7 separate regions of the Homo sapiens genome follow, and all the other regions are linked to region 1. Evidence: promoter capture Hi-C in 16 types of primary human blood cells and fetal thymus (Javierre and others, 2016). All regions are on one chromosome and are shown on one strand. Each heading gives the region's core, a stretch centred on a gene start or on the middle of the fragment in contact. The rest is flanking DNA. Distances are from core to core; before and after follow the strand shown. Region 1 holds the start of SMC2 (structural maintenance of chromosomes 2). Region 2 has its middle 5.7 kb from the start of TMEM38B. Region 3 overlaps SLC44A1 (solute carrier family 44 member 1). Region 4 overlaps FSD1L (fibronectin type III and SPRY domain containing 1 like). Region 5 overlaps FKTN-AS1 (FKTN antisense RNA 1). Region 6 overlaps TMEM38B (transmembrane protein 38B). Region 7 holds the start of FSD1L (fibronectin type III and SPRY domain containing 1 like).

Region 1 (3,746 bases), core at 1,231-3,730:
AAAACACATATACTTGCACATCACTTAAACACTGAAGTAGGGAATAAGTTAGATTTGCTCTTGGTGCTCTCAAGAGGACTAGGATTAATGAATAAAATTTGAAGACAGCAGACTCTGACAAAACTTATAGCTGTTAACTTTCTAATAAGACCTGTCCAAAAACAGAATGGGTTATCTCAGAAGATTGAAAGATCTCAAGTACACAGGTGTTCAAGAACAACCAAAGAAGATTCAAATATGGTTTAAGATTTCAGCATAGCTGAGTGCTTATACTGGATGAACAACTTTTCAGCTGTCTTTCAATCCTCTTAGTGATAGAATGTGCATGATCAAGATTTTAATATAAGGAAGACATTAAGGAATCTAGTCAGAATTTAAGGCACCAATTTTGCTCATGAACTTTCTCTAGCACGTTTTGCAAAGGCATAGGGCCAAAAACCACATCAGACATAAAAGGTCTTAAGATACCCAAAGGTTTAATTGCCACTCACCTGCCTTGTTACTGTGATTTCATCATGAACCTCAAATCCTAAAGGACTTTGCTTTTTGTCAGAATTATCAAAAGTGATTGACACAGAGGCTTTGGTAATACCAGCCTGCCCATTTTTGTAAACTAAATCTTGTAAATTAGAAGCCCGAACCTAAAATAAAATATGAAAAGTGTAACAATTACAAAACTCCCTACCGTACAAAGCAGCACTAAAAATGGGTCCCTTGCTGTTGGAAAACCCACCAACGTAGTGTCCATTAAGTAGACAAGGTTAGGCAGCTGCATCCTCTGGCAAGAAAAACAAGGAAAATAGGCAACAACCTGCAATGGACACTTTTCTCTACAGAACCTTTTCAACCCTGAATTGAATTGTTTCCTATTCATTTTTTAATAAAAAGTTACTTTGCAAGATATAAGGAAATACTGTCCCAAAGATTTTCACTAGTCATTCAATCCATTAATAGGATTTGAAAAGGCATCATTACACAGGGTTGAAAATACTCTGGAATGAGACTGCTTTACAGTCAGAATGCCTGAGTTTTGAGGCACTGTTACTTCTAAACATCTCTAAGTTTCTATTTTCTCATCTAAAGGAGTAATATTACTTTCCTTAAAAGGTTGCAGTGAGGTGTAATTTACAAAAAGTATAAAAACACAAATGAAGAGAATATCGGGACGTCTCCAAAGTTCAGTGAGGATTCTCCTGCCAACTTAAATTCAAATAAATCAGAAAGTTTACACTTTACCTGAGACAGGTTGGAGATGCCCAGCAAAAAGCAGATGGAGTCCAATATGTTGGATTTCCCACTACCATTTAAGCCAGTGATAGCATTGAAGAGGGGGTCAAAACCATTGACTTCGGTCCTCTGAGCATAGGACTTGAATCCCTCTAGAATAATTGACTTAATATGCATTTTCGATACTGTCTTGGGTCAGCAAACCTCTGACAGGAATCAAACAGGCCACAAACCAGTTCTGTACGAAACAGAAATACCACCACCTAAGTGGAATGTAAACCTGGAATCATAATGAACACGAGGCAAAAACAGCAACGATAGGGTGATAGAAATAAAACAGCCACTTGACAAACTATCTTGTCTGATGTAAAGACATCGTTCATCTACTCAAAAATATACCAGAGTTAGCCACTATCTGGAAATTAAACCATTCAACTGGGAAGTCTTAACTATTTCTTCTACCCGTTTTTCCAGGCTTGCCTTCTACTTTTATCATACTCTACCTAAACAAAGACTATGGATTATTACATATCCCATTATCTTTGCCTATAATGTGCTTTTCTCTGATACTGACATAGCTTACTCTCTACTGCACTCACGTCTTTGCTCAAATGTCACCTTACTGGAGTCCTCCCTGACCTCCCTATGTCACCTCTCCACAATCCTTCACTCGGCTTTCTTTTTCCTTCATGGTACTTAAAGCTGATATTAGACGGTCATTACTTGTCTGTAAGTTCCCGCAGTGTCTTCACCTACGTCCGTCATTGCATCCCCGAATTGTGCTTGACTCCGGGAGGAGGGGAAGTCATTTAAGTATTTACTAGAGATGAGATGTATCTCATATTCTCCAACTTCTTGCTTTTACTCAGGCTTTTACCTCGCTTCTCCAGGCCTGTCTACACCTCTTCGCCCTACTCCAAGGTCGAACAGAAGCTAGCCTTTATTTCTAAGGATCACCTAAGGTCCCTCTGCCACTGGTCCCCCTCCCTACAGCCCCCGCGCCCCGCGCCCCGCCTCCCGCCTCCCGCCTCCCGCCAGGAAGTCTGGCCCGGCCCAACCGGCCGTGCTCACGCACACGCCTCACCGCTGCCTCAGGCCAGGGGCTTGACGCACCCCAAAAGCTCCTCCGGGTCACAAAGGCAGGGAACAGAACAACTCTCTAGCCGGGGCCGCTACAAAGCGAACTTCACCATAGCGGCTACAACACCTGCCACACCGCTCTCAACACCCGCGCCGGAACTATTTATTCCTTTGAATTTCGGCGCGAGCAAAGGACCCCACCTCCATTGCTTATTTCCTGTGCTGGTGCCTAGGAGCTGCCTGTCTTTAGGGTTCAATTTTTCCCCTACACTCGAAGGATTAAAGCCGCAGGGCAATAGAATGAGAGTCTCGATAATGGTAGCTCCGGGGACTCCCCGGCAGGGGCCTGGGCACTACAGGAGCAGATAGTGTATGTTCACACCGGCGTCCGGCACTCTATGGTCAGCCCCACACCTCGGCCCCGGGTCCTCGCGCTTCGCCAGCCCCGCCCCGCCTCGGTCCCTCTAGTTCGCGTTAGGCACACTGCAGACTCCGCCTTCTCCAGTCTGCGGTGCTGGCTGTGGCTTACTTTTCTCTCCTCAAAGCGACAGTTAGGAAGTGGAGAGGCATTCTATGAGTGTTCTCGTCGGTTCTGTTTTGGAAGCTTCAGAATCTTCTCGGGTTGGCTCAGATTGCTGCAAAATAAAAGCTGTACTTCTTGGGGCCAGAGAGGCACCGTCCTTCGGGGGACTCTGGCCCGCGTCCTGGCTCCGCCCCGTACTGGCCTCGGACCTCGGGGAGCGTTTTTATCTGAAGTTTCCACGTCGGAAAGGGATCGTAGTCTACCGAGAGCTGTTCCGAGCCCAGAGGAGAAATTGTGTGGTGCTAAATAGCTATTCATCTCCCTTATACCGGAAAGCGTTGTAATGATAAGCCGACCTAACCTGTTGGGGATTTTTTCTGGAAACCTTTTAAGACAGTTCATGTTATTGAGTTCTGAATATTAGGCTATATTGCAAGGGGCTTTTTAAAATCCACGTAGCAACCCTATGAAATCAGAAATTGCCCTCGTTTTACAAATGAGTTAAATGAGACCAAGTAAAAGGTTAAACAGCTTGTCTAGTAAGCTGGGATTTGTTCCCAGGCGGTCTAGCTCCAGATTGCATGCTTTTAAATACTAGGCTTCATGCATAGAATCTAGTATTATTAGCCGATCCTATTATTAGTATGTATTGTTCTTTAGGAAGAAAAAACGTGTCAGGATTGCTCACGTTTCCAAGCACGTTGATACTTAAGAGTTAGGAAGGGCTTAACTCCGAATGGGTATGGTGTTACCCTAAGTGAGGTTCAAAAAGATGGTGTGGGCAACAATGCTATTTTGGAATGGCTTGATCCTTTTGGGCTTCCATAACAAAATATCCTAGACTGGGTAGTTTATGAACCACAGAAGTTTATTCTTCACATTTCTGAAGGCTGGAATGTCACAGAATAAGGTGTGT
Region 2 (3,944 bases), core at 1,257-3,756, 1.6 Mb before region 1:
ATTTCAAATCATCTTTTTTGTTTTTCTCTCTTGAATCTTAAAGGTCTATCAATCAAATCATCTCATCTAGCCATTTTGAAATAAACAATATACTATCGTTAACTATAGTCACCCTACCACGCTATTGAACTTTTTAAGGTACCTTAGAGTCCCCGATTTGCAAGTTTCATATTAAAGGGACCAATTGCACTCCTAAACCTTAGTATCTTGGTCTGGCATTTTCATTCTAAAGTTGTTTTGATAAGCACTTGATAGCCACACTGTATCAAATGATAATGTATTAATATGTGACATTTAAGACAAAGTATATGTAATTTGAATTCAACCTTTTTTAATATTCAGGATTATCAAGGAGAATTAGCTAGAGAGCACCAATTGCCCTCAAAATACCCACTGAATTCAATCAGTACAATTAGATGCCAGTGCATGAGATTTAAGTGCAACCAATTCAAGTATACACTCAACTCTTTAGACTCAGCATGTATCTAATAATAGTGCCTTTGATATTGTGTCTTGGAAAACCTGACATGGCTCACTTATTTATTGCACTGGAAACTAAAATCCTTTTCTATAATCGTCATTCATACCACTAATATAAACTAGTAAACTAAAAATGTTCTCCATGTATAACAAGTACAAACTTACCAGATTAAAAACCTGATGTTATTATGGGAATACCTCTAACTTTCTTCAGCGTAAGGACTGCTAAAACTGTAGTCACCCACCAATGCCATAGCTGTCAGTTGTCTGTGGTCATCAGCACTTAAGTTCACCATATTGCTCTTCAACATCTCTGTTAAAGAGTAACAGGTACCATTAAATCACAGAGTAAATGAATTTTGGAAGTTGAATGGACCCTTTAAAAAAAATAGTAACATGGAGTCCAAGTAATAGAAAACCGTTCTGTGCAGCTTAAGCAAAATGAGCAATTTGCTGAAAGTCTACTAGGGAATCTCATGAAAGCCAGGAAAAGTTGAGCAGTCAAGACCCAAGGAAAGCAAGTAGAGCATTTCTGGGGCCAGCAGCAACAGGTGGGTGTGCACTTCTCTCAGTCACTGATGATACTCAGTGCCAACATCTCTTAGCCTCTGGGTCCCCCTATTGAATATTGCCAGGAGAAAGACCCTGTCCTGGCCTGGGACAGCTGTACACTCCTGGTTAATCAGTTCTGATGGGAGGCCGGGTCACGTGGTTCAGATCTGATGCATCCCTACATATCAGAGGCAATTTCCTGAAAAAGGAAGGAGCGGCTGGGTGCAGTGGTTCACACCTGTACTCCCAGGACTTTGAGAGGCCAAGGCAGGAGGATCGCTTGAGCCCAGGAGTTTGAGACCACCCTGAGCAACATAGTGAGACACTGTCTCAAAAAAAATAAAGAGAAAGGAGGGAGCTAGGCAGACATCCCAAGAGATGTCTAGTATAATCATTTTCTTTAACCTGTTTATTTTATTTTATTTATTTTTTAATTTATTTATTTTTCTTTTTTTGAGGGTGAGTCTTGCTCTGTTGCCCAGGCTGAAGTGCAGTGGCGCGATCTCAGCTCACTGTAACCTCTGCCTCCCAGGTTCAAGCGATTCCATCCTCCTGAGCAGCTGGGATTACAGGCACCTGCCATCACGCCCGGCTAATTTTTGTATTTTTAGTAGAGATGGGGTTTCACCATGTTGTCCAGGCTGGTCTCCAACTCCTGACCTCAAGTGATCTGCCTGCCTCAGCCTCCCAAAGCACTAGGATTACAGGCGTGAGCCACAGCGCTCGGCCAACCCATTTATTTTAAAGTAGGAAACTAAGTGCTAGAGAGGTCACCATGGGCAGTGACAGACCAAAATTTGTTACTATTCTGTTACAATCAGTCTTCCCTATGTACTCCTACTAGGTTTTCTCCTGTCTAACAGAACCCAAATACTTCTTTTGAAGTTTTCCTTTACAGAGAGATTCAGCATCCCTACAGCAATGAAAAGGCCACCCACCAGATAAGGGCCAGGAAGACCAATTAGTAATCATTAGTAACCCCATCCCATTCTTTGACATTATCTCAGCAGATCCCATTGCTTTGTTGTCATTTAAGATTTCTTTTTCTTTTTCTTTTTCTTTTTTTTAAGACAGAGTATCGCTCTATTGCCCTGGCTGGAGTACAGTGGTAGGATCTTGGCTCACTGCAACCTCCACCTCCCAGGTTCAAGTGATTCTCTTGCCTCAGCCTCCCAAATAGCTGGTATTATAGGTGCCTGCTGCCATTCCCAGCTAACTTAAGATATTTTTTAAATAAAATAAAAAGTCCAGTCCAGTTAAAACATCCATCTTACATGCAATATAGAACTTCTTTCCTCCCATTTGCTCAGGACTGCCTGTCTCAGAGACTTTGATGGGGCAATGGGCATGGTGGAGTCCTCCAGCCTTTCTTCATCTTCTGCTCCTTTCATCTGCTATGTCTTCTAGGGTTAGGGCAGTGAGGAGGGAAATTAGAGAAAAGGAACAGAAGACTTTCTAGTTGGCAAATGTTGGTCATAGTTTTTGTTTTTTGGTTTCTTTGTCTTGGTTTGCTTTTGGCTATTGATATTCTTCTCTATGGCAGGCTGTCAATGCAGACTCATTCATGGGGTTTATTTGTGGGTTCCCCAATGATGCCATGGAGCTCACACAGCAAGATCTCCTAACCTCTACAGTTAAGGCAGACACCACTGGTTGAATAACCCAGCACACATATTCAACTCTGTGTATCCGGTTAAAACATTAGATATAGTTTGTTCAGCCTCTCAGCAAGGTGTGAACTTGTGTTAGGATACTGGCAAATAAAACTTCAGGGGACCTAGGTTGACATGCTTCTGAAAACAAAGTAAGGAAAAACAAAGTTGAAGGACTGACACTGTCCAGCCTCAAGATTTACTATAAAGCTACGGTGATAATCAAGACGTACGATATTGGTGAAAAAATAGAAAAATAGATCAATGAAAATATGTGGCTTCTCTGATAAAAGGGACTATGCCCTTGACATTGGCCCTTCTCCTTGTCTTTCTGCCTAGAGCTAGGGCAGCCATGTTGTGACCATGAGAGAAAATAGCAGATCATTGAAGTTATCAACTGTCCTTCTCAGACTTCCTGTTACGTGAAAAAATAATTTCTTATCTGCTTAAATAGAGTCTGAATTGGCTTGGGGGAAGTTAGCACCTCTTTCTTCACAGGGAGAGGAGTAGGAAGGCAAAGCCTCTAGCCCTCTGAATTCCCTTCCATGAATTTCCCTTCAAATTCTTGACCTCTTGGATTGTTGAAAGTGAAGTTCACTAGGCCAGCTGTTATATTTTATTAAGTCCTGCATAGACAGGGCTTAATTGTCTTTTCAGAATGTAGAAGTAGCATCTTTTGTCTTAGGGGATCTAATGGAATTTCACGATAAATTAGCATCTTGTTATACTAGATGACAGGCAAAGGAAGGAGATTAGAAAATGGGGTGGATGACGCCAGGTGTGGTAGTTGATACTTACAATCCCAGCACTTTGGGAGGCCAAGGTGGGAGGATTTCTTGAGGCTAGAAGTTTGAGACCAGCCTGGGCAACATAGTGAGACCCCATCTCTACAAAATGTTTAAAAAATAGCCAGGAGTGGTGAGGTGCACCTGGTCCCAGCTACTCGGGAGGCTTAGGTGGAAGGATCACTTGAGCCCAGGAGTTTGAGGCTACAGTAAGATATGATCGTACCACAGCACACCAGCCTGGGCAGCAGAGCAAGACCCTGTCACAAAAAAGAATAAGATGGATGGGTGAGGTTTGAAAGAAAATGCACATGGCTGTGGCTGGGAACCCACAAAGTGTCGGTTATCTGTATAGATGGGTTGATCAAACCGAAACACTAGCAGTGAGAACACATGTACTTGATATATGGGCAAATAAAAAGAATCGTACCTAGGGATTTATAAATGTGTCCAAATACCAGAGCATGCATGGTCA
Region 3 (4,097 bases), core at 42-2,541, 1.3 Mb before region 1:
CTGGACATGTTGACAAATATATTTTAAGACAGTAGTATACTGATAACACTAAGCCACATAATGTCATAATGTCATAGCTGAGCTACAATAAAAAGAATCAAGTGTTTTGGTAGATGGATTAATTACAAGGATTCCCTATTTATTTCTTCTTGGATATTTTTTTTTTTTTGGCTCACTGCAAATAATCTGGTACCTTGCCCCCAAATAACCGCCAGGACACACACACACACACACAAACACACACACACACACACACACATACACACCCTCATACCTCCAAGGAAAGAAAATCTTACTGTCATGAAGATTCAGTGTTGATCATCTTGTTATTCCTTCAGATTAGTGTGGTTTCTATTCCCTAACCTGCTACTAAATTACATAAAGTCTTTAAGTTATAAAAATGATTCCAGGTCAGAAGGTGGTAAGCATCATCTCAAAAGTATCTCTAGTGGAGGCCTAATCACTTCCTCATTTCAAAACACATTATCAGAACAACTTTAGAGCAGCCTTTTGACTTGGGTTCATTAGCCCCTGAGGGGGTACAGGGGTGGAAGCTGGCCGTCTGAGGGCCCTGAAATTCTATGAGCATTTTGAGTGTTCACAGACATGTGATGTGCATTTGAAGGAAAGATAGTCCATAGCTTTCTTAAGCTCAAAGAGACCCATTGTCTCTTCAAAATAACTTGTTTTTGAATATCAAATATTAAATTCAGGTCTTAGCAAATAAAAGTGAGAAATTTCTGAGACATTTGTAAATTACAATGTTTCCATGTTCAACTAGATCTTCACTAGACCATTAATAAAAGCTTTATTATTCTGAGCTCCGTGTCCTGGAGAAAATCATTTAAGTTGTAAAACTGAGCATCAAAACTGAAGAATAGCCTAATAGGTCTCGAACAATCTCACATGTTTTTCACAAATTTACTAACGAATTTCCTTAGAACACATTCTGTCCATATAATTTACAAAGTGGCAATTGTTCATGCAATATTGAAACTGAATCATCATTTGTCTTTACATGTACAAAATCAAGATGGGAAGAAAGGGCACTACAGTATTTCTATAGAAAAGAAAGGTTTTCCACAGAAATCAGTAAGTTTAAAAACTGCATTAAAGTTTTCTATAAGAAAGATATTTTCAAAGATTTAAATCTTGGATTAAAATTATCCTTTTAAAATTAAAACATGGAGTATAAGAATTTGGCTCAAATGTATGAAATCTGAATGGAAAAAGTGTGCTATTCTAAATTCATAACTGTACACGACGTGTAATTTTTGTTTTGTTTTTTAAGTTTGCTAGCTTTAGATTTTCTCTTGGCATATTCAAGGGTCTTGCTTTTTAAAAATTTGGACTATGTGCCACTAAGTTAACAAAGATGAGTTAATTCCAAGAAGCTACTGTGTATGAATAGTGCCTACTTTTCAAAAGGGCTAACATGCATTCTTAGCACACAAAGATACATGAATATGCATTTAAAGCAAAAGGCAGCCTACGCTGTGAATACAGAATACACAAATATCTGCGTTACGCTTTTACTTATGAACCCACATTTTTTCAATATACATTCACAGACCACTTCTTACCAGTTCTAGGCAAGCCATTATAGTGCACTCGTATGTGTCAGATGGAATGTATGAAAAGAATACAGAAATTAACTGTGGCAGGTGCACTGATAAGCCTCCAGACTCTGAGAGTTTTATTTGTTGTTGTTGTTTTTTTTTTAAAGTAGCAGTAGAAAAGCAGTAAAGAACTTACTTATTGAAAAGCGAAAGCTTAAAGACCTTTCTGGAGGAAACTTCTCAGAGGCCATGTTAAGGCTATTGGAAAGTCCAATTTAAATGACAAGGTTACTGACCAAAAATCAAATAAAATATTCAAGTCACCATTACTGGCAGTTCTGGTTTTGGAACTGATCCCAGAATTCTACCTTGCAGGCTAGGAGATCTCTTAAAATGGCTGTTAGTAGCTAGTAATAGTGCATGGTGGAAATAGTTGAAGCCTCAGGGGCAGTGATGTGGCCTCACACATATGTGGTGCCTGCAGTTCCTGTAGCTGTTTTGAAGAGGGAGGGAGAGGTATTAACTCTGCTCTAAAGCAGTTTGGGTCCAGAATAAAGGGGTCAGTGCCTCATACCCCCTACTAGGGTGAAATCCTAAAACTGCCCAGGGAAGGCAAGGAAGCCCTTGGCAGATACCAAGATCAGTGGTATTGGAAATAACTTACAATCAGCAGCCTAATGCCCTCACGGAAAAAAAAAAAAAAAAAAAAAAAAAAAGAGAGAGAGAGAGAGAGCATCTCTACAAAAGAAAAACATTTCTAGCATAACTTTAAAATAAACTCAGTAAGTGCCTCCTCCTTAACCATTATAGAAAAAGTTTGGGTACCAACATACAGTTAAGCTACTTAAGTTGTAGTGACTTAGGACTTAATTATCTTATAGGATAAAATAAAAACTTTAATCCTAAACATTAGCCATTGCATTAAATGCTTTAAAGGAACAACTGGCTTTGAGCTCTGCTCATCCATGCAAGGATTATACAATCTCAGTGCTCTAGCTAAATTGCTAATGTTTTATTACTAATGCACTGGTAAGCCTCTCATAGAAGATGGGTCTCTTGGATTTACACTGAAATATAACTTTTCTCTTCCATATTATGGAAGACCTTATTCTTCAGGCAGGAGCTTAGAAAGTCTAAATTATGCACCAGAGCCTTAATTATCTGATGGCAAAAACCACGATACTCTGGTCACTACTACAATTGACAATAGAGGACCCCAATTAAAACTCTAGAAATATGAGTCCTGAATACAGTTTTGAAGATTCACCACAGAAGAAGACAAAAACCACCACATAGAATCAATGATTTATGAAATTATTCGGGTATCCACATTTCACAGAGAAATTTCTGTTCTTCATCTATTCTTCTCACTTGGGCAGAAGATGGAAGCAGTGAGCGAATAGCAATAAGGCAGCCCATAGCTAGCTGAAGAATGACTTGAAATGAATGAAAAGAGGCAGCAGGAATATCCAAACATAACCTCAACACATTTAAATATTGCTTAAAATCCTCTGTGAGGCTTTATCAAATTAATCAAGGAATAAAGCTCATGAAAGAGTGATATTCCACATATTAAATATCTCTCTGTGTGTGCCTGTGTAATGCATATCTGCATATTTCTACACGGCACATGAATTTACTTAAGGAAAACAGCCTGGCAATTAATTTGCAACTCAAATGACATGGTTACACATAGATTATAATTTCTAAACACAATGTTAGTAAAACAAAATTTATTTGTAAAACAGGACCTGTTATATAAAATGGCACACAATCAAGTTATACAAAAATACAAAATTTCTTTCTGATTACAGTTCTAGTTGCAAATGATAATTAGAAAGCATTCCTGGTAGCTTCCAAATAGCTGAGATTGCGAGCATATGGAACAGGGAGCAGCAACAGTCCATGATGCAGGGATGTCCAAGTGAGTAGAACCTAATTTCCAAGTTCAGGACTTCCATCAGGTCACTTTGGAGGGACACCTCTTAAAATTGCTAGCTCCTGGAATGTCTTCTGTTTTGATACCCATCTTCTAGACTTTTGCCAATTCTAAATTTAGTTCCCAATGTTTGTGAAAGTCCAAAATCTGTGCGGCTATGAAACAGATGGTATTCTGAATTTTCTCACATGATTTGCTCTCTCATCTATTTGGACAATTGTTAGTTATATAATTATATTCATTTCAAATGAATAAAAGAGAACAGCGATACTGTTTGGTGATACTAGATATTAGATGTTAACTTCTGGAGAATTATTCTTTCAAAATAGCTACTCTCGCAATGTTGGTTTCCCAGATCTTGCTAAGACATGAGCTCTTAATTGTGTGTATGCATGTGTTTTTTAAAATCCAGACTCTTATTGCAAATATTCTGAAAAATCAGAAATATTACATGAACTTTTAAAAGAAACCAAGGCATTTAGCAAATTTTAGCCTAGCTAGAGTAAAGAACACCAATACTTAAAAAAAAATACAATTTACCTTTTGCAGCAATTTAAAGGTCCAACCCTTTGAAAGGAAGCACATTAGCAAACGGCTGC
Region 4 (3,726 bases), core at 66-2,565, 1.4 Mb before region 1:
ATAGTTAGTCAGTTGTGGCTATTAGAAAAGCCTTTCTGATATTATTAAGCTGAGTTTTCTCCATAAAACTACTCCATTTGGAAATGAAAGGGAAATAAACTATCTCAAATGCTTGAGATTATAATCCCTTGGCAAAATTTTTATTTAAATTTTAATTGAAATTGTACTTACTTAAGGAATACAGCAGAATGTCTGAGAGTCCAGCTCCAAGGAGACCCAGTCATAGGAGTGTCCCCACACATTTGTGAGTTTTACCTCCAGGAGCTTACCAGGTTCTCACCATGAATAACTAACAGAGAAAAATCCCCTTATGCTTCCACAGCAGGGGGAGGAGAAAAGGAAGTATTTTGAAATACATCAGAGTTTCTGTTCCCTTAAGAGAAACTATTTAATCATAGTCTAATCTGTTGGGGTTTTAACAGAGACTAAGTGACCTGGGGAAAGGGAAATATCCAACTCCAATGAGCTACTCCATGTGGGCAAAGGGAAATACCCAGACCAACCCCAGCCCACTCCAGCCATCCTGTTCCACCGAAAAATCCAGGAATAAGGAGTGGGGAAAACTGAGAAGTCCCTTGCAAAGTTCACGGTCCAGAGGCACAGGCTCACCAAAAGACTGAGACCTAATTATGGTGCTACAGAATGCTGCCCCTCCCACACACCTTACTACCACATTAATAAAGGCCAGTTTACATCAGTTTCTTTAACCCAATACATGTCTGGTCATCAAGAAAAAATTACAAGACTCAGATATGGCAGAAATGCTGGAATTATCAGACCAATAATTAAAAACAGCTATAATATTCTGAGGGCTCTCATGGAGAAAGCAGAGAGCATAAAATGGAGAAAGTAGACAGCATAAAAGAACAGATGGGCAATACAAGTGGAGCGCTAGAAATTCTAAGAAAAAACCGCAAAGAAAGGCTAAAGATAAAAAGCACTGTACCATAAATTAAGAATAATTTAATGGACTTAATAGCTGACTGGAAAGAATCTTTTGAGTTTGAAGATCTCTCAATAGAAACCTGCAAGATGAAACAGCAAAGACAAAAAAGATTGGAAGAAACCCCACAGAACAGAATATCCAAAATTTACTGTGGAAGTACGAAAGGAGTAAATATGTATAATGGAAATTACAGAAGAAGAAGACAGAAAGGAACAGAAGATATATTTGAAACAATAATGACTGAGAAAATCCCAAACTAATATCAGACACCAAACTACAGATCTAGGATGCTCAGGGAACATCAACCAAAATAAATGCTCCCTGCCATACACACATAAACAAAAACTGTATCTAGGCATATATTCAGACCACAGAAAATCAAAGACAAGGAAAACACTTGAAAGAAGCCAGGTGGGGGCGGAGGAGGGGACCTTACCTATAGAGGAGCAATTCTGTATACCTTGAAATTATCCTTCAGTAGTGAAGGAGAAATAAAAACTCTCTCAGACAAATAAAAATTGAGGAAATCTGTTGCCAATAGACATGCTATGAAGAAATGTTTTTAAAAAGTTCTTTAAAGACAAAGAAACAAAGAGCAATGGAGAAGGATAAGTGAAGGTAAAATAAAAACTTATTTTTCTTATTCTTGACTGATCTAACCAGTAACAGTTAATTCAAAACAATAAGGGCAACTATTTATTTGAATGTGTGTGGTGTATCTGTGCTTACACATACTGCTGCATAAGTGAAATAAATGACAACAATGATACAAGTGATGGGAGAGAGGCAGAAAATCACTAAGTACATGGTTGAACTCAACAACTCCATCAATCAACTGCATGTAATTGATATCTACAGACTACTTCAACCAACAATGGCAGAATATACATCCTTCTCAAGCTCCTATAGAACATTTGCCAAGACAAAGACTACATTCTGGGCTGTAAAACACACATTAACAAATTCAAAAGCATAGAAATCATGCAATGATTAAATTAGAAATCACTTAACAGAAAAAGATATATAGCTGCAAAGTCCCAAAATACTTTGAGATTAAACAACCCACTTCTAGCATGGGCGCGGTGGCTCATGCCTGTAATCTTTGCACTTTGGGAGGGGGGCGGATCACTTGAGATGAGGAGTTCAAGACCAGCTTGGCCAACATGGCGAAACCCCATCTCTACTAAAAATATAAAAACCACACTTCTAAACAACACATAGTCAAAGAATAAATCTCAAGAGAAATTTTAAAATATTTTGAACTAAATGAAAATGAAAACACAACTTATCAAAATTTGTTGAATGCAACGAAAATAGTGCTTAGAGGGAAATTATAACACTGAATGCACATATGGTCATGAGCCATAAGCCATATAACAACATTTTGGTCAATGACAGACCACATATACAAAAGTGGTCCCATAAAATTACAATACCATATTTTGACTGTATTTTTTTCTAAGTTTAGATATGTTTAGATACACAAATTATTATCATTGTGTTACAACTGCTTACAGTATTCAGTACAGTAACATGCTGTACAGGTTTGTAGCCTAGGAACAATCTGCTATATAATATAGCCTAGATGTGTAGGAGACTATACCATCTTGGTTTGTGTAAATACACTCTATGATGTTTGCACAATGACAAAATTGCCAAACATCACATTTCTTAGAATGTATCCCCACCACTGACAAATGATTATATTAGAAAAGAAGATCTAAAACAAGTAATTTAAGCTTTCGCCTTGGTAAACTAAAAACAATAATAATAATAATAATAATAATAATAATAATAAAGCCAAAGCAAGCAGAAAAGAAATAATGAAAATTAGAACAAAAATCAGGTTGGGTGTGGTAGTCACACCTGTAGTCCCAGTGCTTTAGAAGGCTGAGGTGGGAAGATCACTTGAGGCCAGGGGTTTGAGACCAGTCTAGGCAACACAGTAAGACCCCATCTCTACAAAAAAAGATTTAAATTAGCTGGGCATGGTAGCACATGCCTGTAGTCCTAACTACTGAGAAGGCTGTGGCAGGAAGATCCCTTGAGCCCAGGAGTTCAAGGCTGCAGTGAGCTATGATTATATAACTACATTCCAGACTGGGCAACTGAGCAAGACTCTATCTCTAAAAACAAACAAACAAAAAACAAGAACAGAAATCAATGAAACTGAAAAGAGGGAAATCAATGGAAAAAAATCCTGAAAGCAAAACCTGGTTCTTTGACAGATCAATGGAATCAATAAATAACTAGTATCAAATAACTAGTATCAAAAATGAAAGAGGGGGCATCAACAAAGATCCCATGGACATTAAAAAGCTAATCAAGGAATTCTGTGAATAACTCTATGTCCACAAATTTGATAACCCAAAAGGACCAATTCTATGACAGACACAATCTGCCAAAACCCACAAGGAAAACAGACAATCTGAATAGGCCTCTATCTATTTTAAAAATTGAATCGATACTAATAACTTTCCAAAACAGAAAGCACCAGGCACAAAAGTGTTCACTGGTGAATTCTACCATACTTTTCAGGACAAAAGTACACTAACTCTCTACAATCTCTTGCAGAAGAGAAAAATAGAGAGAATACTTCCTAACTCTTTCTATGAGGCCAGCATTACCCTAATACCAAAACTGACAAAGATATTACTCCAAAAGAAAACTACAAACCAGTATGTCTCATAAATTAGATGTGAAAAATCCTCAACAAAATATAGCAAATCAAATCCAACAATTAACAAAAAGAATTATACCCTTGACCAACTGGTATTTAT
Region 5 (3,619 bases), core at 321-2,820, 1.5 Mb before region 1:
TTTGTACCTGATTAACTTTTTTCTTTTCTTTTTTTGTAGAGACGTTGGGGGCTAGCAGGGCGGGGTGTGGCGGGGGTGGGGGGGAGGGCGTCCTCACCATCTTGCCCAGGCTGGTCTCGAACTCTTGGCCTCAAGCGATCCTCTCACTTTGGTTCTTTTAACGGTGTAATCCAAAAGGTGGTTGTTAAGGCTCAGATATTAATCTTCTTATAAATTTTTGAAAACCATAATTCACTAAACCAGTTACTGTAATTATAATTTATTTCTACAAAACGGAAAATACTCCCATCATATATTTGTTTTCTAAGCTTTGTTTTTAATTCTATCAGTACAGAAAGAAAAGGAAGAAAAAATCTTCCTCACTTCCTACAGGTTATGACATTTACCAACTTTTTGTTTTTCCTTCCAGAAATTTCCTATGCACATACAAGCTTACTGTTGAAGTCCTCTCATCCAATGCACTCAGAACGGGTAGGTACTCAGTAGGTTAATAAAAAAAAGTGGAAGGTTACACCAAGAGGAAGTAAGTTATCAAAGCTTAATGGCATCATTAACACAGGTGCTAACGTGATGGGACATGGGAAAACTTGAGCATCACATACTTGCTATTGATTGAAACACATCAAATATAAAAATTCTTGAGTTTATAATGACTCCTTAAAAAATAAAATTCAGTCGTGATTGAAGATTGCCAAGTTGAAGATTAAATATTCTAAAACTTGATAAGGGAAAACATCAAGCATTTATCCTGCCTTTCTTGTATGAATTGAATTTTAGTGTAACCAAAGTACTTATAAGAGTTCCAGCTAATAAATGGAGGATGATAAAACAATCACGATTTTGTAACTCCTAATAAAATAATCGAAAGGGCAACATCAATAGATGATAAAATTAAGGTGAAAGGTTGATGGGGAACTTTATAATAGACTGGCATCACCTAAACCCACTGATCTTAATCTCACTAAATTTGGGACAAGCATATATTATGTACTTCCTGATGTGATAGAAAGTACACAGCCACACCTGTGAAGGATTCTTGCCTAAAAATTGAACCTGCATTTACTCAAACTCTAGATCTAATACAGGATATAGAGAAGCAACTAAATTCAGAAAACGGGACATTCTACCAGACAAATTCCTCAGTTTTTTTCATAAATGGCATTTAAAAGCAGAGGGAACTATTGTAAAATCAAATATTTAAGAGATGTAACGGAGTACAATGTGTGGACCCTGTCTAGATCTTGATTTGAACAAGATAACTGTAAAAAGATACTTCTGAGACAACTGAAATTTTAGTATGGACTGATCCATTAGATAATAGTACAGAATTACTGTTAATTTTGCTAAGAATGTTAACAGAATGTGGCTGTTTTTAAAAGCCATCATGGATGCATATAGCATACTTACAGGTGACATTTTAAAACAAAATAGATAGCACAAACATGGCAAAATGTTAACAATTGATTAGGTGATGAGCACAAAGCACTGGCTTTCTACTTTTCTGTATATTTGGAAATTATAATTAAAAGTAACAGGAAAAGGGAAAAATTATCAGGTTCTTAGAAATAAATACTTTCCAAGTGTATAACAAATCTAGTTCTGAATAAACCTTCTCAAAAAGGCAGTTTCAGTAGAGGGTTACAATGGCCAATCTTCTGTTTTGAACTAAGTTCATTTTAAGCATGGACCAGCTGATTAGAGTATCTCACTGTTTTTCTTACAAAACCATAGACATAATGCATCATCCATCATTTGTAGTTTCTGTTTCTGTAAAATGGACCAGGAACTTAAAGATACAAGTGAAGGAATATAAATTTGGAGTCCTGGAATTTATTTTTAAAAATCTTCCCCTATCACTCACAATTACTTTGGCCACAACTAACTTTGCAACTTTTTAAACTCTTCATCTCTAATGGTTCTCGTACTTTTCTTATAAGTACCTTTTCATACTCATTTCATATTTATTTTGGTTTATATATTTATATAATTGGTTTACATACTTACATGACTACAACAGTGACTACCACCTACATAAGCAGGTTTGGGAACAAACATAACTGAAGGTAAATATACAACTAAACTGGTGGCAGTGTTACTTATCAAGCATACTGAAAGGTCAAATGTGAGCCCTCAGCTCATGGCAAACGTCAAGTCAGTATGCTTTAATCTGGATAGCAAATACAGCTGAAAGAGTGGGTACAAGGATGCATAAAAACAGCCTCTCTTACAAGTAAATATTCATGTTCTATAAACCACTCAGCTGTGCACACATGTAAGGATCCTGGCCGACTCCTAACATTTGTAGGGTCTGGGCCAAGAATACAAATGAAAGCCAACCCTGACATATTTTCAGTGTCTAAATAGCTGAGCGTTAACCAACAAATAAAATGTTATACTCTTCTACTTTAACATGTATTCTCAAGGAACAGAAATCTAGGTTCAAATATGCGATTCGCAGATTCTTCAGAAGTGTACTAGAAAGTGATACTAGGTTGGCCTGCCCTTCCCTGATCCCCTGGGTCTCTTTTTACTTCTAGCTTAAGCCTGCCACAGGGGCCTATCATGCATGCATGTGGACAACTCAGTCTGCACATCCAAGCTTCATCTGTACTTCCCACAAACTGCCAGCCATAGGGGTATATACATCTGTAGTAGTCTTTTTTCAGGATGGATTTGGACAAAAGGCCTGCACATATCCTGGAAGCAAGCTTCAGGCTGATGAGGCAAGGAATCCTGGGGTTCTGGCTGATAACATAGTATAGAATTCTGTGGGTAAAGGAACATGGATTCCAAGTAGGCATAGTCCCTTGGCTCCTCAATTTTTCATCCCATGAAGAGAGGCACAGCAAGAGTGTGGGGATCCGGTTAGTTAGCTTACCTTAGGTAGGTAACAAGAGAAGGGTCCTGGAGAGCCCCTGGCTCATGAGTCAGTGCCTTATCCCCAGATAATATAAAAAGCAGCCTGGGAAAAAAGCTGCAGGCACCAATAAGGGAACTAGCACAGGGTGTTGTGCCTGGAGACATGCCCATGACTGCACAGATGGAAAAACCTACGGCCCATTTGGATAAAAACTTGCACAAACCTCCAGCTCACTCAGATAAGGGAACAAGGCCTGGCATAGAAATGCCTTGGTCCTTTGTATTGTCAGCAGGTTCCCAGGAAAAGTTTATTCCCCTTTTGTAGGCATGGGCACAGTGGGCTCTGGTAAGTTCCTATGGGCGCTCTACTTTCCTTTGTTAGGACTGTAAGTCCAGCTGCTGTGTATCATCACCTCAGCCCGATTGGTCCTCGGCCACACTTCACTTCAGCTTCTGATAGGTCCTGGGCCAAGCTAAGCAGCATCTATGAATCATTTCACCTCCTGACTGGTCCCGGGCCAAGCCGAGTCACGCATTCGCCAAGACAGCCCCCAGACTAAGCACATTCCTTCCCCTTCCGTCCATAAAAACCTGGACCCCAGCCTCATGATGGGCACTCCCGTTCGGGACCCCCTCTCTGCTGGCAGAGAGCTTTCTTCTTTCACCTTATTAAACTTTCACTCTAACCTCACCTTTGTGTCCGTGCTCCATAATCGTCTTGGAGGTGGGACAAGAACTCCAGGTGTTATCTCAGACAACG
Region 6 (3,847 bases), core at 48-2,547, 1.6 Mb before region 1:
TAAGCATTTTAGGACAAATAAAAGGACATTCAACTTTGTACTTGCGGAAACTAATCCCTAAATATGAATAAGCGTATATTGATTCATGGGTAATAGGTCCATAATAAATTATTGGAAACTAGGATGTCTGAATATCAAGGAAGACAGCCGTAGTCTCTTACAGTGCCTCTGTTGGTCTGCCTCAAACTGATTTAGGTGGGAAAAGTTATGGTCCAATATAAAAGTTCCATTTTCGCCATTATTGGCAAATCTTGCCTTTGTTTATTTTGGTGTCAGTGTTTTCTGCTTAATCATTGGCTTTGTTGGCATCTGCGTTTATTTACTTGTACACCACATGCAGTTTACATCTTCCTTAACTACTCTCCTTCCCAGGTAAATTCCAATTATATTCGACATCCAGCTAAGAGGGCCCATCTCTTCTCACCTCTATCCTAGTCAGTATGTTCAGCAAATATTTATTGAGTGCTGACACTGTGGGCAAAACATTGTACTGGTTAATTGAGGAGAAAAGTAGATAATTCCCTTATTCAGTAAATGTCTACTGGGTACAATCTAGTGAATGATTACAGTATGGCCTAATTGTCTTGTTTGAGATGTATTATTCGTTACAATATTTTACACCATTCATATCTTAATATAATTATAGAACCCAATATACTATCAAAGATAAGTAATTGTGTGGTTATATGCCATTTAAAATTATCCCGTGTTTGTCTGATCCCATTATTACAAATAATTAAAAAATGATTTGTTTTAATCTGTAATAAACTGATTTATTGTGCAGTGACTGTAATATACTGGAGTTATATTAAATTGTTTACTCAGCCTCACCAAACACATACTAGGAAATAACCCCCAAAATAAGTATTTAACTTTGCATTAGATATAAACGAGACTGGGTGCTATAATTAGATTATTTTAAGGTAGACAGCTATTATCCCAACTGATGTAGTATGTTCTGTAATTGAGAAAATGTTCACCAAATTTTACTTTTTAGTGATTTACATGTACATTTTATAGGGGACATGTTCTATGTATAGTGAATAAATAACTTTGACAGTAAAAAAAAAAAAAATAGCCAACGTGGGAAACATAGTGAGACCTCATCTCAACAAATATAAAAATTTTAAACATTAGCCAGGGGCCAGGCATGATGGCTCACTCTCTGATGGGCTATTATTCCAGTATAGTTAGAGCAACATAAAAAAAAAAATCAACAGATAACATGTTGGATAGCAATAATTCTAAGAAGAAAAATAAAGAAGGATGATGTGATAGTCATGGGAGAGGAGGTGCTACTTTAGTCAGGGAAGGCCTCTCTGATAAAACAAAATATGAGACTTCTGAGGAAAAAAAGATTACAAAGAGAAGAAAGAAAGTACAAAGGCATTGAGGTAGAAGAATACCTTACGTTGGAACATTCAAGAAATAGCAAAGCTCATGTGACTAGAGCAAACTGAGCAAGAATAGAGTTGTAAGACGTTACATAAAAGAAAGTGAAAGCGAGTATTTTGCAGGGTTTTACAGGCCATGGTAAAAGTTTGGGATATTGTTCTTAATAAGATAAGAAATTACTGAGCACATGAGTGACATGTTCTAACTTAAGTTGTCCCTCAGTATCTGTAGGGGACTGGTTTCAGGATTCTCCTTCAAAATCTGTGAATGTGAGAGCCCCTATATAAAATAGCAGAGGATTTGTACATAACCTACACACATCCTCCACTACACTTTAAATCATCTCTAGATTATTTATAATACCTAATACAGTGTAAATACTATACAAATAGTTGTTACACATTATTGTTATTTGCATTATTTTTATTGTTGCATTGTTATTTTTTATTGGATTTTTTTCCAAATATTTTTGATCTGCAGCTGGTTGAATTCAAGCATGCAAAACCCATGGGTATAGAAGGCCAACTGTAATAATTTTGTCTGCTCCATGAAGAATAACGAATAGACTCAAAGGGATAATCAAAGAAGCAGCAAGACCACTTAGGAAGCTCCTGCAATCATCCAGGAGGTTAGTATTATAGGAACAGAAGTAGAAATAACAGAAAGTATCAAATTCTGGATATCTTCCTTTTTGTATAGTTTCAGCATCTATACACATCAAAAAATTCTTCCAAAATGCTAATAACTTTTAAAAATATTGTTATAGAAATAAAAGTCTTTGGGAAAGTTTTTTAAAACACATAGCAACTGGAAGACTACACTTTAAGAGATGGTTAAACAAATCTGTGAGAGATAGTGGCTACAAAGTGTGAAGACTCTAAAGTTAAAAACTTCTTGTTTTGATTCTAGCTCAACCACTTACTAGACAAGAAAGTTATAGCAGCATTTCCCTATGCCTCAATTTTATCATTTGTCAAATGGAAATAATAATAGCTACCTTATAGTACTCCTCTGATTAAATATAACAATGAATATAAAGAACTTAACTGACATATCGTAACAACTCAACATTGCCATAGGTTCCCAGGATTACTTTTTCCCATTGCTACTATTATTTGTAATATCCCTTTTAGAACTGGTTACATATTCATTTTAAAATTATCACAATAAAAATGAACTGTAAGTGTTCCTGTTATATATTTAATGATATGGTTCTTAACAGAAAACAGTTTCTGCTTTATACATTAAAAAAACTATAATTTTTATTATAGATTATTTTAAACTTGATGGATCAATCCTCTTAAGGATAACGAATTTGGATTTGCAAGAATTCAAGGCAATTCCGGGTAACATTTTTTTCTTCACTTCAAAATTATAAAATTTAAAGATCTCATAAAATCAACAGAGTATGAGAAGAATAATTAAATATGAGCCATAATTATTTGGACTTTTTGGTTAGTTTCAGTTGGTCACATACATGATTTTATCATGTTGTATATCTGCGTGTATCAGTTAGGTTCACAAGATAAACTCTAGGGCCAAATACTTAATGCCCTTTCATATTGGAAATGCTTCTATTAAAGATACATAAGACAGGCTGGGCATGGTGGCTCACGCCTGTAATCTCAGCACTTTGGGAGGCTGAGACGGGCAGATCACTTGACATCAGAAGTTTGAGAACAGCCTGGCCAACATTGTGAAACCCCGTCTCTACTAAATATACAGAAAATTAGCCAGACGTGGTGGCGCATGCCTGTAATCTCAGCCACTTGGGAGGCTGAGACAGGAGAATCGCTTGAACCCAGGAGGTGGAGGTTGCAGTGAGCCTGTAATAAGGGTTAAAAAGAAAAAAAAAAAAGTTTTCCTCTGCTTAGCAGCTCAATTCAAGAACAGTTATAACACTGTCCAAAAAGCCAAGGACAGAGGAATGGGCTCCAGACACCCCCGCCCCCTCCAGAGCAAGGTTAAGGAAAAAAAAAAGAGAGAGAAAGACAAATTCCTTTATTGTTACTCCTTTCCCTTGCCTCTTAAGCATAACGGTGTTTTACAAATGCCTGTATTTAGCCAATTCTTGTTTTTCTTTTGACACAGCTAAAAGGCCACCAGCTATGCAAGGCCACAAGTTATGCACTATATGATTAACTACCTTTGTTTTGCTCTTATGAGCCCACTTATAAAAACCTCGCTCTGTCTTTATTCAAGGCCCAGCTTTTTGGAGGTAAATCCACTGAGCCGGTGTGTACCTCACAATAAATATCCTCCTGTATTCACGCATACTGGTCTCTCTAATCCTCTGCGTCCCGCAACAAGCTGAGAGCGCGCCACTGCACTTGCAGTCTTGCACATAGCAAGACTATGTCTCAACAACAACAAAAAAGGTACATAAGACAATGGCAGACAATAATTGCTTCTGGGAGAAGATAAGGGAAAATAAAAAAGAAAGAGATATACT
Region 7 (3,870 bases), core at 1,043-3,542, 1.4 Mb before region 1:
AGACGACGAACCGTGTGAGGAGGCTCAGCGAGATCGCACACCCCAAGACCGCTACTCACTGCACTGCCCCAGCCCGCACCGGCACCGCCCGGCCCCACCCGTCCGCGCCCAGACCGCGCGCGCCGTAGTCACGCCGCGGTTGCCAGGGTGAAAGGGCGGCCCGCAGAAGGGAGGGGCTGAGGAGCGCACCGCGCCTGCGCGCAGCGGCTGACTGCTCCCGGGAAGTAGCCGTGGAGGGTGGGGAGCGCCGCCCGTCTGTCTACCGCTAGTGCCTCTGCAGGCTGCACTCCCTTCCCCCATCCTTTTTCCTCCAGCGATAGCGGTCTCTCCGGCCCTGAAATAGGCCACTGGGCATCCAGCAGCCGGCCGGTGCGGAGGGCCCGGGAAGGAAAGAGTATCTGGTGCTGGAGACGGATTAGCCCACCCTCCACCCAGCACGCATCTGAAGCCCCTCCCCACACTATCCTTCGAGGGGCAGCCAGGCTTGAGCGGACCCAGCGGTCCAAAGGGAGGAAAAGGGCTGGGGTGGGGATGTAGCGAAAACGTGGGAAAAGACCTTTAGGGGATGTGGTGGAAACGTGGGAGGAGGGATATAGGGATGAGAGTGGCGGAAACGTGGGTGTGGGATTAATATGAGCTTTGGGGCCTGGCACAGTTTTTCCCGGGGACCCACCCATCCTCCCCGGCACCTCGCTACCTGTATGATTTTGAGCAAGTCAGTCTGCCTGAGCTTGTTTCATCTGTAAAATGAGAGAAATAATGCGGACTTTGCAGAGGATTGTGAGGATTAAATAACGTATGGTACATAATTAGTAGTGAATAAATTATAGTCATTCTCTTTTTTTTTTTTTTTTTTTTTTTTTGGAGATGGAGTCTCGGTCTGTCACCGAGGCTGGAGTGCAGTGGTGCCATCTTGGCTCACTGCAACCTCTGCCTCCCGGGTTCCAGGAATTCTCGTGCCTCAGCCTCATGAGTAGCTGGGATTACAGGCGCCCCCACCACACCTGGCTAATTTTTTGTACTTTTAGCGGAGACTGGTTCTAGCCATGTTGCTTAGGATGGTCTCGAACTCCTAAGCTCAGGCAGTCCGCCCACCTCAGCCTCCCAAATTGCTAGGATTACAGGTGTGGGTTACAGGGCATGTGCCAGGCCCATTATAGTCATTCTTAGTGGGGAGTTAGAACCTGCTCGGTGTGGCCTGAGGCATCAATGAAGATTTTAGAAAGCTTGGAATTTAGTAGGCTTGAGAAAGTTCTTCCTCAAGCAGACAGGCCTCATCTTCCATTTGGATGACTCTGGAGAGGCTCACAAAAGTTCAATTAGACAGTCATTTATGATGAATGAATAAAAGGGAAATACATATTGAGTACCTATTCTGTACCAGTTCTACAAACAAAATTCAGTAGTGGGCAAGGCCCTGTTTCTCTCACAGAGCTTACAATCTAGTATAGAAGACCAACCAAAAAAAAAAAAAAAGTTAACGTGCTAGACGGTTATAGGTGCTAAAATTAAAACTTAGGCCAGGCATGGTGGCTCACACCTGTAATCCCAACACTTTGGGAGGCCCAATGAGTGGATCACTTGAGTCCAGGAGTTCGAGACCAGCCTGGGCAACATGGCAAAACCCCATCTCTACAGAAATTAAAAAAAAAAAAATTAGCCAGACGTGGTGCTGCAAGCCTGTAGCCAGAGCCAATCAGGAGGCTGAAGCGGGAGGATCACTTGAGTCCTGGAGGCAGAGGTTGCAGTGAGCCTAGATCACACCACTGCACTCCAGCCTGGGCAACAGGGTGAGACCCCAGCTCCTAAATAAATAAATAAGGCAAATGGATTCAGAGAATTGGGAGGGTTTAATTTTTCATAGAAATGTCAGGGAAGATCTCTCTTGGAAATGACCTGAGTATAAAGTGAGAAGAGGAATTGTACAAGGATCTAGGGAAGAACATTCTAGAAAGTAGGAACAACAAATACAAAGGCCTTGTGGAGAGAAGGAGCTCTGTGTTTGAGAAACAGCATTTATTCTACAATGTTGTCATTACATCTCCACATGGATCCCCCTGACTGTACTGTGATTTTTTTTTTGAGGGCTGAATTTCTTTTACCCCATATCTGTATCCCCAGCTCAGAGTCTGCCACATAGTATGCACTTAATACATCCTTTTTTAACTGGACAGAGATGTACAAGAAATGAAATGAAAGTTACAAAAGGGAAAAGAAGAGCTTGGCTAAGGCTGGGTGGGTAGTGCTTAGAGAGCCAGGGTCCAGGGTGGGCCTATGTGTGCCAGCTGAAAGGAGTAGTGGCATGCAGTCCTTCAAAGAGATGCCCATCTCTTAGTACCAAGGGAAGAGAGCCTCTTATTCAACCTTTCCCAACTCCGTGAGGAATAACAAGTGCAGCCAGGCGCCAAGCCATTAGCCCACTGCTGCAGCCACAAAGGTCGTTCCTTCACACTGTGTACTGCAGTTGAGTCAGTTTCCCATGAGGGAGAAATAGCCTGGCGATTGGAGAACATCTAAAGTCTACTCACCAGACTGCGTGCTTCCTGGCTCTGCCCCTGCTTGCCACTATGGGACCCACGACTAAGCAGAGGAGACAGGGCTTGGCGATGTCCCCACTTCTCTTGCTGCAAGGACTTAACCTCATTACTGTCTGAGGGCAATTCCTAGGCACTTTATGACTGACAGGCACCACCAGAGAAAGAAGAAAGAGGCTTTTGGGGACAGTGAGTTGCAGCTGAAATGTGATCACCAGACTCTGTCACAGTCCACACCCCAGGAGCTCACTCCTGGCTCCTTGCCTCCAGCTTCCCAAGTTCTTTCCCTGTAGCCCAGCCAGCAGACTGCAGCTTTTGACAACATCTCTACCCCATTTGGCTTCTGCCCTCACCTGATCTCTGTCTCTGGCCAGTCTGGCTCTCCTGCCCAGCTCATCCTGGGCCTTTTGCTTCCCCTCGTTCCCATCTGGGAAACAGCTAGTTCCTTCTGACTGTGACTTCTGTCTTCCCCAGTTTGTACAAGTTCTCCCATCACAGCCACGTACCGAGCTGGGCTCTAAGTCTCCCACCCAATCCCTCCCAGTACCTCTGGCCTATAGGCAAGTCCTTTGCCTTTTCTGTACTTATTTTTTCACAGCCAAATCCATTTAGAAATTTTCAAAAGTAGTTTTACAAATAAAATAAAGCATTTTTCTTAAATGTGATCCCTGGACCAGCTGAATCCACATCACCTCATAACTTCTATGAAGTACAAATTGTCCAGCCTTATCCCTGGATCTACTGAATCAGGAACTCTTGGAGTAGAATCCAAAAATCTGTGTTTTAGCATTTCCTCTAGGTGATTCTGATGAACTCTAAGCTTGAGAGCCATTGAACTGCGAGAAAGCAAATTGTTTACAAAAAAAGGGGTCGGGGAGAGGACTACAGAGGCATAAAAATATCAGTTCAAAACCTAGGTTTCTGGTTCTTAAAAAGCCTATCTAGTCATAGACATTTATCCTCTTGAGGTCTCTGGGCCTCCAGGAACCTCTTTCTGAGGAAACCTCAAGTTAGGATAGCCTCATAGAAAGGCTGATGTAGAGAGTCTGGCAAAACTGTCTCTCCCAGAACCAGGTTCTGTATCCTCTCTGAGTGGTGCCAGGTATTGCCTGCAGCCCTGGGCTACCTCGTATATTCTGAAATTCCCCCATCTCTTAGGAGAGAAATTTCCTTCCTTTCAGTGTTGCCAGCAGTCTATCCCTTTGGGAGTCAGTATAGGGCCATCAGCATGGAGTCAGCAGTGTGAATTTAAATCCAGATGCTGCTGCTTACCAGCAACGTAGCCTTCAGTGAGTCACTTACCTTGCTAAACCTCAATTTCCTCGTCTGTAACATA

Evidence for each region. The method cuts DNA at HindIII sites, captures the fragments that hold promoters and counts their contacts. A CHiCAGO score of 5 or more calls a contact.
Region 2: a fragment that was not itself captured here is called in contact with the fragment with the promoter of SMC2 in region 1 in 3 of 17 cell types (total B cells, non-activated CD4 T cells and activated CD4 T cells); the score reaches 6.7 in total B cells.
Region 3: a contact is called between a fragment that was not itself captured here and the fragment with the promoter of SMC2 in region 1, in 1 of 17 cell types (total B cells). The highest score is 5.2, in total B cells.
Region 4: a fragment that was not itself captured here is called in contact with the fragment with the promoter of SMC2 in region 1 in 1 of 17 cell types (total B cells); the score reaches 5.2 in total B cells.
Region 5: a fragment that was not itself captured here is called in contact with the fragment with the promoter of SMC2 in region 1 in 5 of 17 cell types (non-activated CD4 T cells, total CD4 T cells, fetal thymus and 2 more); the score reaches 7.7 in non-activated CD4 T cells.
Region 6: a contact is called between a fragment that was not itself captured here and the fragment with the promoter of SMC2 in region 1, in 1 of 17 cell types (non-activated CD4 T cells). The highest score is 5.1, in non-activated CD4 T cells.
Region 7: a contact is called between a fragment that was not itself captured here and the fragment with the promoter of SMC2 in region 1, in 2 of 17 cell types (fetal thymus and non-activated CD4 T cells). The highest score is 10.0, in fetal thymus.

Annotation. Positions count from the first base shown.
Region 1 is chr9:104,093,043-104,096,788 of GRCh38, reverse strand. It overlaps SMC2 (structural maintenance of chromosomes 2), which reads right to left and starts at 2,480. Exons shown (of 25, transcript NM_006444.3): 1 at 2,312-2,480; 2 at 1,237-1,465; 3 at 492-641. The coding sequence starts at 1,404. RefSeq lists enhancers at 1,860-2,527, 2,746-3,065, 2,528-3,197. The HindIII fragment of the contact is 5,032 bases long and covers 1-2,913 here.
Region 2 is chr9:105,686,825-105,690,768 of GRCh38, reverse strand. No RefSeq gene overlaps it. Among named protein-coding and RNA genes, the nearest start is that of TMEM38B, 5.7 kb to the left of the region's middle. The HindIII fragment of the contact is 8,166 bases long and covers 1-3,944 here.
Region 3 is chr9:105,390,582-105,394,678 of GRCh38, reverse strand. It overlaps SLC44A1 (solute carrier family 44 member 1), which reads right to left. Exons shown (of 16, transcript NM_080546.5): 16 at 1-4,097. Among named protein-coding and RNA genes, the nearest start is that of FSD1L, 55 kb to the left of the region's middle. The HindIII fragment of the contact is 966 bases long and covers 809-1,774 here.
Region 4 is chr9:105,497,209-105,500,934 of GRCh38, reverse strand. The region is part of intron 7 of FSD1L (fibronectin type III and SPRY domain containing 1 like); the gene reads right to left. Among named protein-coding and RNA genes, the nearest start is that of FSD1L, 51 kb to the right of the region's middle. RefSeq lists enhancers at 219-268, 279-398. The HindIII fragment of the contact is 2,745 bases long and covers 1-2,687 here.
Region 5 is chr9:105,553,966-105,557,584 of GRCh38, reverse strand. It overlaps FKTN-AS1 (FKTN antisense RNA 1), which reads left to right. Exons shown (of 3, transcript NR_184141.1): 2 at 410-471; 3 at 3,242-3,550. Among named protein-coding and RNA genes, the nearest start is that of FKTN, 2.4 kb to the left of the region's middle. The HindIII fragment of the contact is 2,062 bases long and covers 540-2,601 here.
Region 6 is chr9:105,706,221-105,710,067 of GRCh38, reverse strand. All of the region lies in intron 2 of TMEM38B (transmembrane protein 38B), which reads right to left. LOC107987107 (a long non-coding RNA gene) reads left to right here. Exons shown (of 4, transcript XR_001746868.2): 2 at 1,876-2,023; 3 at 2,667-2,741; 4 at 3,598-3,769. It also overlaps the pseudogene LOC100421293. Among named protein-coding and RNA genes, the nearest start is that of TMEM38B, 14 kb to the right of the region's middle. The HindIII fragment of the contact is 7,200 bases long and covers 1-3,847 here.
Region 7 is chr9:105,444,318-105,448,187 of GRCh38, reverse strand. FSD1L (fibronectin type III and SPRY domain containing 1 like) reads right to left here and starts at 154. Exons shown (of 14, transcript NM_001145313.3): 1 at 1-154. RefSeq lists a silencer at 1-273. The HindIII fragment of the contact is 2,128 bases long and covers 1,229-3,356 here.